Regions from separate parts of the Homo sapiens genome. Here all the other regions are linked to region 3. The links are contacts of gene promoters, found by promoter capture Hi-C in blood cells and fetal thymus (Javierre and others, 2016). All regions are on one chromosome and are shown on one strand. The core of a region is centred on a gene start or on the middle of the fragment in contact, and the rest is flanking DNA. Distances in the headings are between cores, read along the strand shown. Region 1 overlaps LOC100288175 (a long non-coding RNA gene). Region 2 overlaps MIB2 (MIB E3 ubiquitin protein ligase 2). Region 3 holds the start of DVL1 (dishevelled segment polarity protein 1). Region 4 overlaps AGRN (agrin).

Region 1 (2,904 bases), core at 229-2,728, 280 kb after region 3:
GGGACCCAGAGTGGAGCGGCTCGCCCTGCCTGCGGATGACGTCCACCAGGATGTCAATCACGATGATGGTGCCCGTGCATCCGATGCCCCCACTGAGGACAAACTAGGCGGCCTTTGACGAGAGTGGGGGGCGGGGGCGGGGGCGCCCCCGCCCACCCGATGGCTCCGCCCTCGTCGTCCCGCGTGGCCCCGCCCCGCCGCACCTGCACCTGCACAGCCCGCGTGGCCCCGCCCCGCCGCACCTGCATCTGCACAGCCCGCGTGGGCCCGCCCCGCCGCAGCTGAAGTGCACCACCATGGGCCCGGCCCGCGGCTTGCTGCTCTGGGCCCGGTTCACCTCGTCCCGGAAGCCGAGGACGCCGGCGGGATCGGCCCGGACGCCGTAGTCCGGCCAGCCGAAGTACTGGAAGTGCTGCACCGTACGCTGTGGCTCCTCCTGAGCGGGGCAAGCGGTGAGTGTGACCCCAGGGTGGGAGGAGGAGGCTGAGGCACAGCTGGGTTTCCGGGAGTGCCCAAGCGGAGGGGCTGCGGGAGCCAAGGCGAGCAGGAGGAGGAGGAAGGAAATGGGGAGGGGGCGCCGAGATGGCCCCAGGTGGCTCAGGTGCCTGGGGAAGGGAAGAGGGAGCTGGGGGCGGGCGAAGCAGGCTGTGAGGACAGTTATTTTATAAGGAAAAACCAAATGTGAGGGGTCCATGGGGTCCTGGAGGACCCCCCCACACACACTGGGCGGGGGCTGGAGGGAACACGAGGTAATCTGCCCGGAGCAGAAATGGGCGTCTCTGGTATACAACGGAGACCAAAGCTGCAGTTGGAGAGGTGTGTGGGAGGAGCGGCCGCCAGCCCAGGGCTGAGAATGTGGCCACGTCAGTGACCCCTGTCCAGGCTTGGAATGCACCTCCTGGGTTGAGGGGTGTGGAAGCCCCCAAAGGCAGTGGGGTTGGATGCAGGCAGGTGTGGGGTCTCCCAGTGCAGGCCGACAGCAGGCACGCTCCACAGCCGCCAGGCTCACCTGGCCCGGCCGCCACACCTGCAGCTCCCGCACGCAGTAGCCCTGGGCCTGGCCCTTGCCGAGGACGCGCATGTGCACACGGCCGAACTCTTGGCTGCCGGGCAGCTCTGGCCAGTCCCGGAAACACTTGTTCCGAGGGGAGCGCTTTGCATCAGCCTTGCTGGCAGCACCTCGGCACCCCGCCCCTGCGACCTGCAGAGACGCAGGTGTGTACGTGCAGCCACGGGGCTCTGTGGGAGCCTCCCCACTCCCACGGCGTCCCACAGCCTCCTTGGCCTGGTCGGGAAGGGCCTTGGGCAGCCGAAGATGCACGGGGTGGGATGGGCACTGGGAGCACTGGCACCGCACCCCTACCCGGCCCCGCTCCATCTCCCTGGTGGTCATGACGATGACACGCGTGTTCTCCTGGTGCACCGTGGCCCAGAAAGCAGCCACCGTGGCCTGCAGACAGGCCTGCAGACAGCCCTGCAGGCGATGTACACCCTGCGCCCGCGAGGCCCTGCCCCGCGGGGAGGAGCCACAGCGTACGGTGCAGCACTTCCAGTACTTCGGCTGGCCGGACTACGGCGTCCGGACCGATCCCGCCGGCGTCCTCGGCTTCCGGGACGAGGTGAACCGGGCCCAGAGCCGCGAGCCGCGAGCCGCGGGCCGGGCCCATGGTGGTGCACTTCAGCTGCGGCGGGGCGGGCCCACGCGGGCTGTGCAGGTGCAGGTGCGGCGGGGCAGGGCCACAAGGGATGTCCACCCTGCCCCTGCCATGGCCCGGCTCCTCCTCAGGGTCAGTCTGAAAGGGAATGAGGCCAACTGCTGCTGTTAACAGAGGACAAACAAGTCCATGCAAATGCTATGCAAATGATATGCAAACGACACACAAATATTATGCAAAGAGCCCTGGTGGCTTAAACACACTCCTCACTCCAGGCCAGCAAGGGGCTGAGGACCAATGCCCGTCCAGCCTCTCTGAGGACCCCTTGGAGACTGCCGCCCACCCCTCCCTTGGGGACCCTGGTTCTTCCTGAGCCCCCCAGGAGCAATGGGCCCAGGCCCCGCCTCCCGCACACACCCACCCTGATGTAGTCGGCTCCGGGCCCGCTGTCATCCTCGTTGAGCAGGATGACTCAAGGGTAGCATCAACTGGGAAGGGAGGTGCCGCTCAGTTCTCCAGGGCACAGCTCGTGGGCCTCACCCTGCCTCTTTGCCCGCAGACCCTGTGGTGAGCAGAGATGGAGGGTCCAGGGTATGCAAGGGGGAGCCTCAGGTCAGCGGTGGCAGATGCTCGGCCTGCCCCCCACCTCCCCCAGGCCCGACGGGTGACGCCCTGGCCTCCGCCCTCACAGGGAAGGATGTTCTTGTAGTGATTCTTGGGCTTGTTCTCCACACTCTGCCCCTCCTTCCGAGGGTACAGGAACCGGCATTCCTGCTGCTGCAGCATCTGGAGGTGATGGAGCCTTCAGCTCACAGCCCCGGCCCCTTCCCAGAGCCCGAGATGGCCACCCCCAGCCCGTCCCGTGTGGGCGGAAGAGTACCTAGGTGCCGAGGCAAGAGACTGAAGGCACAAACTGTTTCAGTATAATAAAGAAAATAGAATAAGAATAGTCATAATACAAATTAGATACAGCGATGATCATGAACAATTATCCATCATTATTATAAACATTATTAATCATTAGCTTTTAATATTACTCTGTTGCATTAATAATATAACCTAGGAATAACCGGCAGGTATAGGGTCAGGTGCTGAAGGGACATTGTGAGAAGTGAATAGAAGGCAAGAGGGGAGCCTTCTGTCATGCCCGCATAAGGGCCGCTTGAGGGCCCCTTGGTCAAGCGGTAACGCCAGTGTCTGGGAAGGCACCCGTTACTGAGCAGACCGGGAAAGGGAGTCTCCTTTCCTT
Region 2 (2,985 bases), core at 426-2,925, 270 kb before region 3:
ACCCACTCCCACCTCTCCCCGGGGGCTGGGATGTGAGCACACAGGGGCCTGTAGACCCGGCGCCTCCTCAAGGCCTCCCCTGCAGGGCCCCCACCCCAAGGGTCTGGGGTCTGTCCCACTTCCAAGGCAGTCCCTTCTGTCCAGCATGGCACTGCCCTGGAGTGGCCGCCTCATCTGAGCGGGGTCTCCAGCCATGCCTGCCCGCCTGCCAACCCTTCTGCGGTGCCAGTGTGCAGACAGACCACATGCGCGTGGATCCCAGGCTCAGGAGCTCAGTATCCTGGACCCTCTGGAGGGGCCAGCAGTTTTGGTTTTTTTGAGACGTAATCTCGCTCTGTCGCCCAGGCTGGAGCGCAGTGGCGCAATCTCAGCTCACTGCAAGCTCCGCCTCCCAAGTTCACGCCATTCTCCTACCTCAGCCTCCCGAGTAGCTGGGACTACAGGCGTCTGCCACCACACCTGGCTCATTTTTTCTATTTTTTAGTAGAGACGGGGGTTTCACCGTGTTAGCCAGGATGGTCTCGATCTCCTGACCTCGTGATCCGCCCGCCTCGGCCTCCCAAAGTGCTGGGATTCCAGGTGTGAGCCACTGTGCCCGGCCGCCAGCAGCTTTTGAGGCTCTGCCGCCTTTCTCCTCAGCTCCTTCCTGCAGCTGCCTGCCTGGCTTTCTCACCATTGCCCCAGGGCCAGCAGTCACCCAAGACCTGCCACTGGGCTCCTGGCACCCTGGCCCCAGGGCTCAGTACCTGCCTCCGAAGGCCTCTCTAGGGGGTGTTTGTGGTGGGGGCAGGAGGCAGTAATGAGACCCCCACAGGCAGGGAGGAGGGGCACCCCGCCAGGACCCAGCACTTGTATCCCTTGGTCTCTTCTCAAAGGGGACAGAGTGCACCTGCTTAGGGGCGGGAGGATCCAGCCCAGCATCGAGGGGCCTGCCCCATTCCCATTGTTCATGAGAGGTGGGGGCTGTGGGGTCGCACAAGCAGCCTGCCCATGTCAGAGGGAAGCTTGTGGACAAAAGGGCTCATCCCTTGGGCTTCCCTGACCATCCTGTCCTCCTGGGGCCATGGGACAGGTTCTGGGCTGGGTCTGGGTCAAGCTGACCCCGAGGGTACTGGCCACAGGACCCATCCCCTGGGCAGGCCTGGGAGCAGGTGATGTGGGGCTGGCGCTTGGCACACCCGCTGCAGACCTCAGGTGAGGACTTCCTGGAGGCAGGTGAGGAACACCAGATTAGGGGTAGGAGTGGGGTGGGCAGCCTGGAAATCAAGCCCTCTAGGACAGATGTTCCCCCAAGGGCCCCTCACTCCCTCTGCCTCCACCCTGGACCTGTCCAGCATCCATTCCTTCCTGGAGAGCAGGAGGCCTCTGGGTTGCCCCCTCCTATTTTTCTGTTCTACACCCACAAGGCTCCAGGTGCAGAGGAGGGGACCCGTGGGACCTGATCACCCTGATCACCTGCCCACAGCGGGTGAGCTCTGGGCCAGAGGCTGCTATGGGAAGTGCAGATGTCCAAGGCTAGCCCTGCCCTCACACCAACCTGGCCAAGGTTTCCCAGAAAGACAAACCAGAGACAGCCACAGCCACAGCCCAGCACTGGTGGAGGGGCTCCAGGGAGCAGACCAGCAGACCAGAGCTGTGGCCACGCAGCCCCTGGTGTACATCGTGGCGTACATGGCTGTGGCCACTCCTGCTCCTCCTCTTGGAAACATACAGCCCAGGCTTCCGCTTCAGGATGCTGCCCCACAATGGGTATCTTCATCTCAGTCAGAAATTTACTCAGAGAGTTACCAAATGTTTTTTCCTTTGCCAGAAATGCTAGACTTTGCCATCTACCCACAGTTCACAGGCTGTGCCCCTGGCTGGCATCTGAACCCCGCTGCAGGCAACTGCTCCCGATGTTTAAAATGATGGAGGCAGTCAGGGTGTGAAGACTCGGGCGACAGATCGACAGATGTGCTTTGGCAAATCGGAACTTACCTCAGAGCACACACCAGCCTCGAGGCAGCGTCCCAGGCATTTAATTGCTACTTCCTGGGTCACAGATTCGCTCGGCTACCAGGCTTTCCTGTTGGAAGCTAAAGCCACTGGAGACACAACACAGCAAACCAGACGGGCAGCCAGCAAGCCAGGCTGGAGAAAATGGTTTCTAAAGGCAGTGTCACACATTTAGCATTTACCGTCTTAACCACGCAAGCAGACACCGGGTCTGTTCTATTGCTGCTTAGTTTCTCTTTTTCACAAGAAACTGCAAGCTCTCAGAGGGCAGGAGGACTTCCGAACCATCAGTCAGGAGAGTGTAGGAGGAGAGAGTTCCCTTATTGCAAGTATTTTATCGGAGAAGCTTTAAAAGCCATAGAAACCAAATCCTATTTAGCGAGAAAGTTAGCAAATTGCCTTTATTCAGAAGAAGCAAGTTACATGGAACTGGACATGAGGCTGCCCTCCTCCTTGCACCTCCAGCTGTGCCTAATGACACCGAAATGCCGCTGTGTGTGGCACGCCACAGGCCATGGAGTAGCTCCAGCTAACGCAGATGGACATCCCAGGTGCCCCAGGGAGATCAGGCCCACGGAGTGGGATGAAGCCCTGAGGCGGGGAGGCCAGCATGGAGACACCTGCTGAGGGAAAGCCCACGAGCGCTGCGGCCACCTCCAATCCTGCCCATCTGGGTGGAGACCTACAGGCACCCTGCAGGCTGGGGTGTCATCCCACTCACCGCCCAGGGCTGCCCTCGGCCAGGAGAGCGCCACATTCAGACACTTGTTGCATGTGAGGCAACAGGCCAGGGTGGAACCGGACAAAGGGGGCCTCCCGGGAAGGGCCAGGCTTGCCGGCGCTCCTGCGCTGCGGCCGCTCTGCCCCAATCCTGCAGGTGCCTATCAGAGGCCTGTCTGGCACCTCTGCTTTCTTCCTCCATGGGTTCCGAACTCAGAGAGGAGACGCGGGATTACTCACCACTCCCCTCCACTCGCATGCATGCTCAGA
Region 3 (3,018 bases), core at 449-2,948:
GGCCCCCTCCTCACTCCCCCCGTCGCTCCTGCCCCGTCCAGGCCCCCTCCTCACTCCCCCCGTCGCTCCTGCCCGGTCCAGGCCCCCTCCTCACTCCCCCCGTCGCTCCTGCCCGGTCCAGGCCCCCTCCTCACTCCCCCCGTCGCTCCTGCCCCGTCCAGGCCCCCTCCTCACTCCCCCCGTCGCTCCTGCCCCGTCCAGGCCCCCTCCTCACTCCCCCCGTCGCTCCTGCCCCGTCCAGGCCCCCTCCTCACTCCCCCCGTCGCTCCTGCCCCGTCCAGGCCCCCTCCTCACTCCCCCCGTCGCTCCTGCCCGGTCCAGGCCCCCTCCTCACTCCCCCCGTCGCTCCTGCCCCGTCCAGGCCCCCTCCTCACTCCCCCCGTCGCTCCTGCCCCGTCCAGGCCCCCTCCTCACTCCCCCCGTCGCTCCTGCCCCGTCCAGGCCCCCTCCTCACTCCCCCCGTCGCTCCTGCCCCGTCCAGGCCCCCTCCTCACTCCCCCCGTCGCTCCTGCCCCGTCCAGGCCCCCTCCTCACTCCCCCCGTCGCTCCTGCCCCGTCCAGGCCCCCTCCTCACTCCCCCCGTCGCTCCTGCCCCGTCCAGGCCCCCTCCTCACTCCCCCCGTCGCTCCTGCCCCGTCCAGGCCCCCTCCTCACTCCCCCCGTCGCTCCTGCCCGGTCCAGGCCCCCTCCTCACTCCCCCCGTCGCTCCTGCCCGGTCCAGGCCCCCTCCTCACTCCCCCCGTCGCTCCAGCCCCGTCCAGGCCCCCTCCTCACTCCCCCCGTCGCTCCTGCCCCGTCCAGGCCCCCTCCTCACTCCCCCCGTCGCTCCTGCCCCGTCCAGGCCCCCTCCTCACTCCCCCCGTCGCTCCTGCCCCGTCCAGGCCCCCTCCTCACTCCCCCCGTCGCTCCTGCCCCGTCCAGGCCCCCTCCTCACTCCCCCCGTCGCTCCTGCCCCGTCCAGGCCCCCTCCTCACTCCCCCCGTCGCTCCTGCCCCGTCCAGGCCCCCTCCTCACTCCCCCCGTCGCTCCTGCCCCGTCCAGGCCCCCTCCTCACTCCCCCCGTCGCTCCTGCCCCGTCCAGGCCCCCTCCTCACTCCCCCCGTCGCTCCTGCCCCGTCCAGGCCCCCTCCTCACTCCTCCCATCCTGGGCCGCCCTCTAGTGGCCTCCGCGCTTCCTGCTGGGGTCGGGTCGGGAAGGCCTCCAGCCCCGCGAGCCCCGGAACAGTAAGCGCGGACGCCCCGCGGCCTCAAGGGACGCCTCGGAAGTCTCCCCTGCCCTGCGGAGAACCCCAGGACTAAATCCCTCCCGCCGCCGGGCGCTCCGACGCCTCCGTGCACGCCCGCGCCCCCGCGCGCCCCGCATCCGCTCGGCCTGCTGCCTGGACCCCGTGGGACCCGGCAGAGGGCACGCGAGTCGGGAGCCTTCGCGGTGGCGCAGAGCGACCGGGCGCCACCTCAGCGCCGCGCACCCGGCGTCCCCGGGGTCCCTCCGCCCGACCCGAGCGCCCCGGCGCCCACGGGCCCACAGCCAGCGGCGCGCGTCGCATGCGCCGGATCATAATGGAGCGCGGGCCCGCGCGCGGGGGCGGGGCCGGGGCGGGGCGGGGCGAGCGATGATCGCCTGCGTCTGCGCATCCTCGCCCCGCCCCCGCCGTGCGCCCCCGTGACGTCAACGCCGCGCGCTCGGGCGCCCCCCCGCGGCCACGCTCAGGACCCCGGGCCGGGCGGTCCCTTTAACGGCGCGGCCCGAGGGGCGCAGGCGGGAGGGCGGCGGGGCTGAGCGCGCCCTCCGTGCTGCGTCCCTCGCGCCGCTCCCGGGCCGGGGGCGGATGGGCGGCCGCGGGCCGCGGGGCAGCAGTCGGGACGCGCGCGGGAGCCGGGGGCGGCGGCCGGGGCCTGGGCGGTCGGGCGGGGGCGCCCGGGGGCCTCGGAGCGTCGGGGCCGAGAGCGGTGCGGGCCGGGCGGGGCGCAGGCGGGCGGGCGGGTAGCGCCCCGCGTCCGAGCCCCGGGCCGGGCCCTGAGCGCGCGGGCTCCGCGCCGCCGCCGCGCCATGGCGGAGACCAAGATTATCTACCACATGGACGAGGAGGAGACGCCGTACCTGGTCAAGCTGCCCGTGGCCCCCGAGCGCGTCACGCTGGCCGACTTCAAGAACGTGCTCAGCAACCGGCCCGTGCACGCCTACAAATTCTTCTTTAAGTCCATGGACCAGGACTTCGGGTCAGTCGGCCGCGAGGCCTGCGCGAGCCTGGCGCGGGCTCGGGGGTCGCACCTGCCCGCGCGGGGACGGGGCGGGGGTCCTGAGCCGTTCGCGCCCCCGGGGACCTGCGACCGCGACGCGCCTCCGCTAGATGCGGCGCGGGTGGCGGCCTCGGCCCGTGTGCGGCGCGCGCCCACCTGTCCGTGGAGCGGGGCGATGGCAGGCGGGGTTCCCGGCGTCCCTGGCCCCAGCTTCCCGGCCCCGAGTCCTGCCTTGGCCCGTGTCAGACTCGGTCGGCCGCATCGCTTCCACCGGGGCTGGCCGGGAGCGCCTGCCGTTGGTGCGGGCTGGGGTCAGGGGCGTGTCAGTGGGAAGGAAGCAGGGTGGGGTTCCCTAGCTGGGATGGGGAGACATGGGGGTACAGGTTCACCAACCTGTCTGCTAGGGTTTGCAGAAGCTTCCCGAGGGTCAAGACAGGTTCTCCTGGCCCCCTTCTGCAGGGTCCTTGTGACAGGGTGGAGGTCAAGGGCCACTGGTGACCATGAAACTTTATTCGCCTACCCGTGTCCTGAGCTTCCTGTGGGCCCCGTCCCCACTGAGCCACAAAGCACTTGCGTTCCCGGAGCAGCCCAGACCATCTGCTGTTTCGGGGCAGCCTGGGTCAGCGTCTCCCTGCTGGGCCTCGGTGGTGGTGTCCCAGGCGAGGAGACCCCTGCTGTGCTGAGCTGGGCCCTCTGGGACAGGGAGCAGGAGCCTGGCGGTCTGCTTGAGGCCTGGCCTGGCCCGGCCCAGCCACCAGTAACCTGAGTCCCTAGTCC
Region 4 (2,700 bases), core at 194-2,693, 310 kb after region 3:
TGTGCTTACAGCGTGGAGACATGCGGACAGGCCAGAGGACTCCCAGGGAGGGCGTGGCTGAGGTCAGGGACCAGGGAGCCTGGACAAGGCCCCGCCTCTGCCTCACCAGCCCCCAGGTATCCAGGTACCCTCCGCACACAGGCTCCACCCTCCCCAGAGCCTTCCCAGAGGGACCGGCCCACTCCCAGGACCCCAAGAGGAACATGATGGATGAAGATGGCATGTGATGTCCAGGCAGGGACTGACGCAGGAGCAGCCCACCCCGCCTGGCCTCCACCCCGGGGCGCTCACCACACGGGCCCTGGTGCTTGCTGGGGATGGCACGCTGCTGCCGGCACTCAGCCTGCTGCCGCCAGCAATCACTGTCATACGTGCGCCCGTCCTGGGCACACACGGGCCTGTAGGCCCCGTCACAGGTGACGCGGTCGCAGGAGCAGCGGGGACGGCCACGGCGGGACAGGCACACGGCATTGAACCGGCAGGGCTCCGGGCACTGGTCTAGGACGCAGGGGTGAGGGAGTCACGGAGAGGCTGGAGCACCCTCCATCCCTGCCCTGGGATGTGCAGGGAGCAGGGGAGCAGGCGGCCCTCCCAGAGGGGAGCCGCCCACCTCGACCCTGGCACTGGCCGCAGCCCTCCCCCGGGGGAGCCGCCCACCTCGACCCTGGCACTGGCCGGAGCCCTCCCCCGGGGGAGCCGCCCACCTCGACCCTGGCACTGGCCGGAGCCCTCCCCCGGGGGAGCCGCTCACCTCGACCCTGGCACTGGCCGGAGCGCACTTTCTGCAGGAGGAGACCCCGGGCGGCCCCCGATCGGCCCATGACACAGTCGTTTTCGTAGGTGACTCCGTCGTCCCCACACACTGGCGCCTGCCGGGCAGGGCAGCTCTCGGGCCGTAGGAGCATCTCAGGGCGCCGCGTGCGCGGGTTCACACGGCAGCTGCGGCTCGGGTCAGGGAGGGCGCCCTGACAGGGGTCTGGGGGTCGAGGGCAGGAGTCAGGACGCTGTCGCCGCGCGCCCACAGAGCTCGAGCCGTGCGCCCGCCGCCGCGCTCACCACAAGGGCCGTCGAACTTCTTGAAGACATTCTCCTGGCGGGCGCAGGCGCGGCGCAGGAGCTGGCACTCGCCGGGGTAGTCGGCGCCGTCGCTGCCGCAGACGGTCCCCTCGGGGGCGCCACGGCAGGTCGCGGGGCACAGGCACGAGGCCGTCAGCCCGTCGGCCGAGCGCGCACAGGTGCTGCCGAAGCTGCAGGTCACGTTGGAGCAGGGGTCCCGCGAGCCTGCGGGCGGGGCTTTGCCGGTCAGACGGGCCGCCCCCGCCCCCGCTCCCGCCCCGCTCCCGCCCCGCTCCGCCCCCCAGGCCCCTCCCAGCCCCGCTCCTCCCCGCCGGGCCCCGCAGGCCCCGCCCCCGCTCCCGCCCCGCTCCGCCCCCCAGGCCCCTCCCAGCCCCGCTCCTCCCCGCCGGGCCCCGCCCCTGCCCCCGCCCCACTGGCCCCGAAGCCCCTCCCAGCCTCGCTCCATCTCATAGGCCCCGCCCCTCCCCGCCCCAGGCACCGGCCCCGCCCCGCTCACCGCACGGCCCGCGGCTGAGCAGGCGGATGCGGCGCTGCTGGCTGCACTGCGCCCGCTGCAGCTCGCATTCGTTGCTGTAGGTGGAGGCGTCCGACCCACACACAGGCGCCACCACGCTGGGGCACGGGCTCTTCTTGCAGACGCAGGACGCCCGGCCCGGCCCCTCCGCGTTGGGCTCGCACACGGCGCCGAAGCCGCACAGCATTCCCCGGCACGCTGGGGCGGGTAGGGGAGAAAGCTCAGGGTGCCGAGACGCCCGTACCCACGTCCACAAGCCTGAGAGACCTTGCCGTGCTCGCAGCCCGCGCATTCACCCGCCCCCGCGCCGCATCGGGGGTCCACCACGGACACGGACACGCGTGCGTGCGCTCACAGGACCGGCCCTGCCCCTCGCAGACCCCGCCCGCCGAGGATTCCCGCCAGCCCCGGGCCTCTCCAGGGATGACCTTTCTCCCCCACCCCGCACCTGCAGGCGCGGAGAGGGGCGTCTGCCGCAGGCGGCACCCGACTCTGTTTCTGCGACGGGCGAGCACCCACTTCCCACCCACCTCGTGGGCCTCCAGCGAAAAGCAGAGACGCCTCGAAACCAACTCGGGCACAAGCAGTCCAGGCCCCAGTTCTGCTCAGGAGCTCCTTCCACATCGGCACCGGAGCCCCTCACCGATTCACCCCATGGAGCCGGGGGAGCCCCTTCCCGCGCTGCTGCAGCGTCCAGCACAGCTGAGCCCTGCCGCCTCCCGCCCGGGTCGCACCCAGGTCCCGCGTCTGGCCCTCAGGGGCCTGAGAGCCCCACCGGGACGGGGTGTGAGGCCAGGTCACAGCTCTGGCCCACCTCTGGCGCCTCCCTGACCGCTCCCTGCGCCTAAGATGGGTGGGGAATCTTCTTGCCTCCCTCTCCCCAACTCTTCCCCAGCTTCCCTGGAGAAGTGCAAATTCCTGGCCTCCGCCTCTACTATCTCCTATTCTCCCTGGCCAGCCCCCCACCCGCGGCAGGCCTGTGCCCTTCTGCAGCCTCCCATCGCTCCCTGGGATCCCTGGGGCACCCACACGCCCCCTCCTCCCTGGGCATCCCCCGGCCCCCCACCTCACTCTTGCCTCCTCCATCGCCCTCACTCTCTGTCAAAGCG

The links. Contacts are between HindIII fragments. The CHiCAGO score rates a contact against its expected background, and 5 or more counts as called.
Region 1: a fragment that was not itself captured here is called in contact with the fragment with the promoter of DVL1 in region 3 in 1 of 17 cell types (activated CD4 T cells); the score reaches 5.3 in activated CD4 T cells.
Region 2: a contact is called between a fragment that was not itself captured here and the fragment with the promoter of DVL1 in region 3, in 1 of 17 cell types (activated CD4 T cells). The highest score is 5.0, in activated CD4 T cells.
Region 4: a contact is called between a fragment that was not itself captured here and the fragment with the promoter of DVL1 in region 3, in 1 of 17 cell types (M0 macrophages). The highest score is 5.5, in M0 macrophages.

Annotation. Positions count from the first base shown.
Region 1 is chr1:1,066,109-1,069,012 of GRCh38, reverse strand. It overlaps LOC100288175 (a long non-coding RNA gene), which reads right to left. Exons shown (of 4, transcript NR_148960.1): 4 at 2,560-2,904. LOC105378948 (a long non-coding RNA gene) reads left to right here. Exons shown (of 5, transcript NR_168433.1): 1 at 1-452; 2 at 973-1,215; 3 at 2,215-2,267; 4 at 2,415-2,547. Among named protein-coding and RNA genes, the nearest start is that of RNF223, 6.7 kb to the left of the region's middle. RefSeq lists a silencer at 110-299. The HindIII fragment of the contact is 4,423 bases long and covers 1-2,904 here.
Region 2 is chr1:1,616,708-1,619,692 of GRCh38, reverse strand. All of the region lies in intron 2 of MIB2 (MIB E3 ubiquitin protein ligase 2), which reads right to left. Among named protein-coding and RNA genes, the nearest start is that of MIB2, 2.7 kb to the right of the region's middle. The HindIII fragment of the contact is 1,337 bases long and covers 1,007-2,343 here.
Region 3 is chr1:1,348,098-1,351,115 of GRCh38, reverse strand. DVL1 (dishevelled segment polarity protein 1) reads left to right here and starts at 1,698. Exons shown (of 15, transcript NM_001330311.2): 1 at 1,698-2,220. The coding sequence starts at 2,051. RefSeq lists silencers at 1,077-1,226, 1,247-1,566, 1,667-1,846, 3,007-3,018 and an enhancer at 2,736-3,018. The HindIII fragment of the contact is 21,682 bases long and covers 1-2,659 here.
Region 4 is chr1:1,039,754-1,042,453 of GRCh38, reverse strand. AGRN (agrin) reads right to left here. Exons shown (of 36, transcript NM_198576.4): 4 at 1,574-1,789; 5 at 1,057-1,281; 6 at 752-976; 7 at 292-498. Among named protein-coding and RNA genes, the nearest start is that of AGRN, 21 kb to the right of the region's middle. RefSeq lists a silencer at 1,465-1,674 and an enhancer at 2,230-2,700. The HindIII fragment of the contact is 3,981 bases long and covers 1-2,700 here.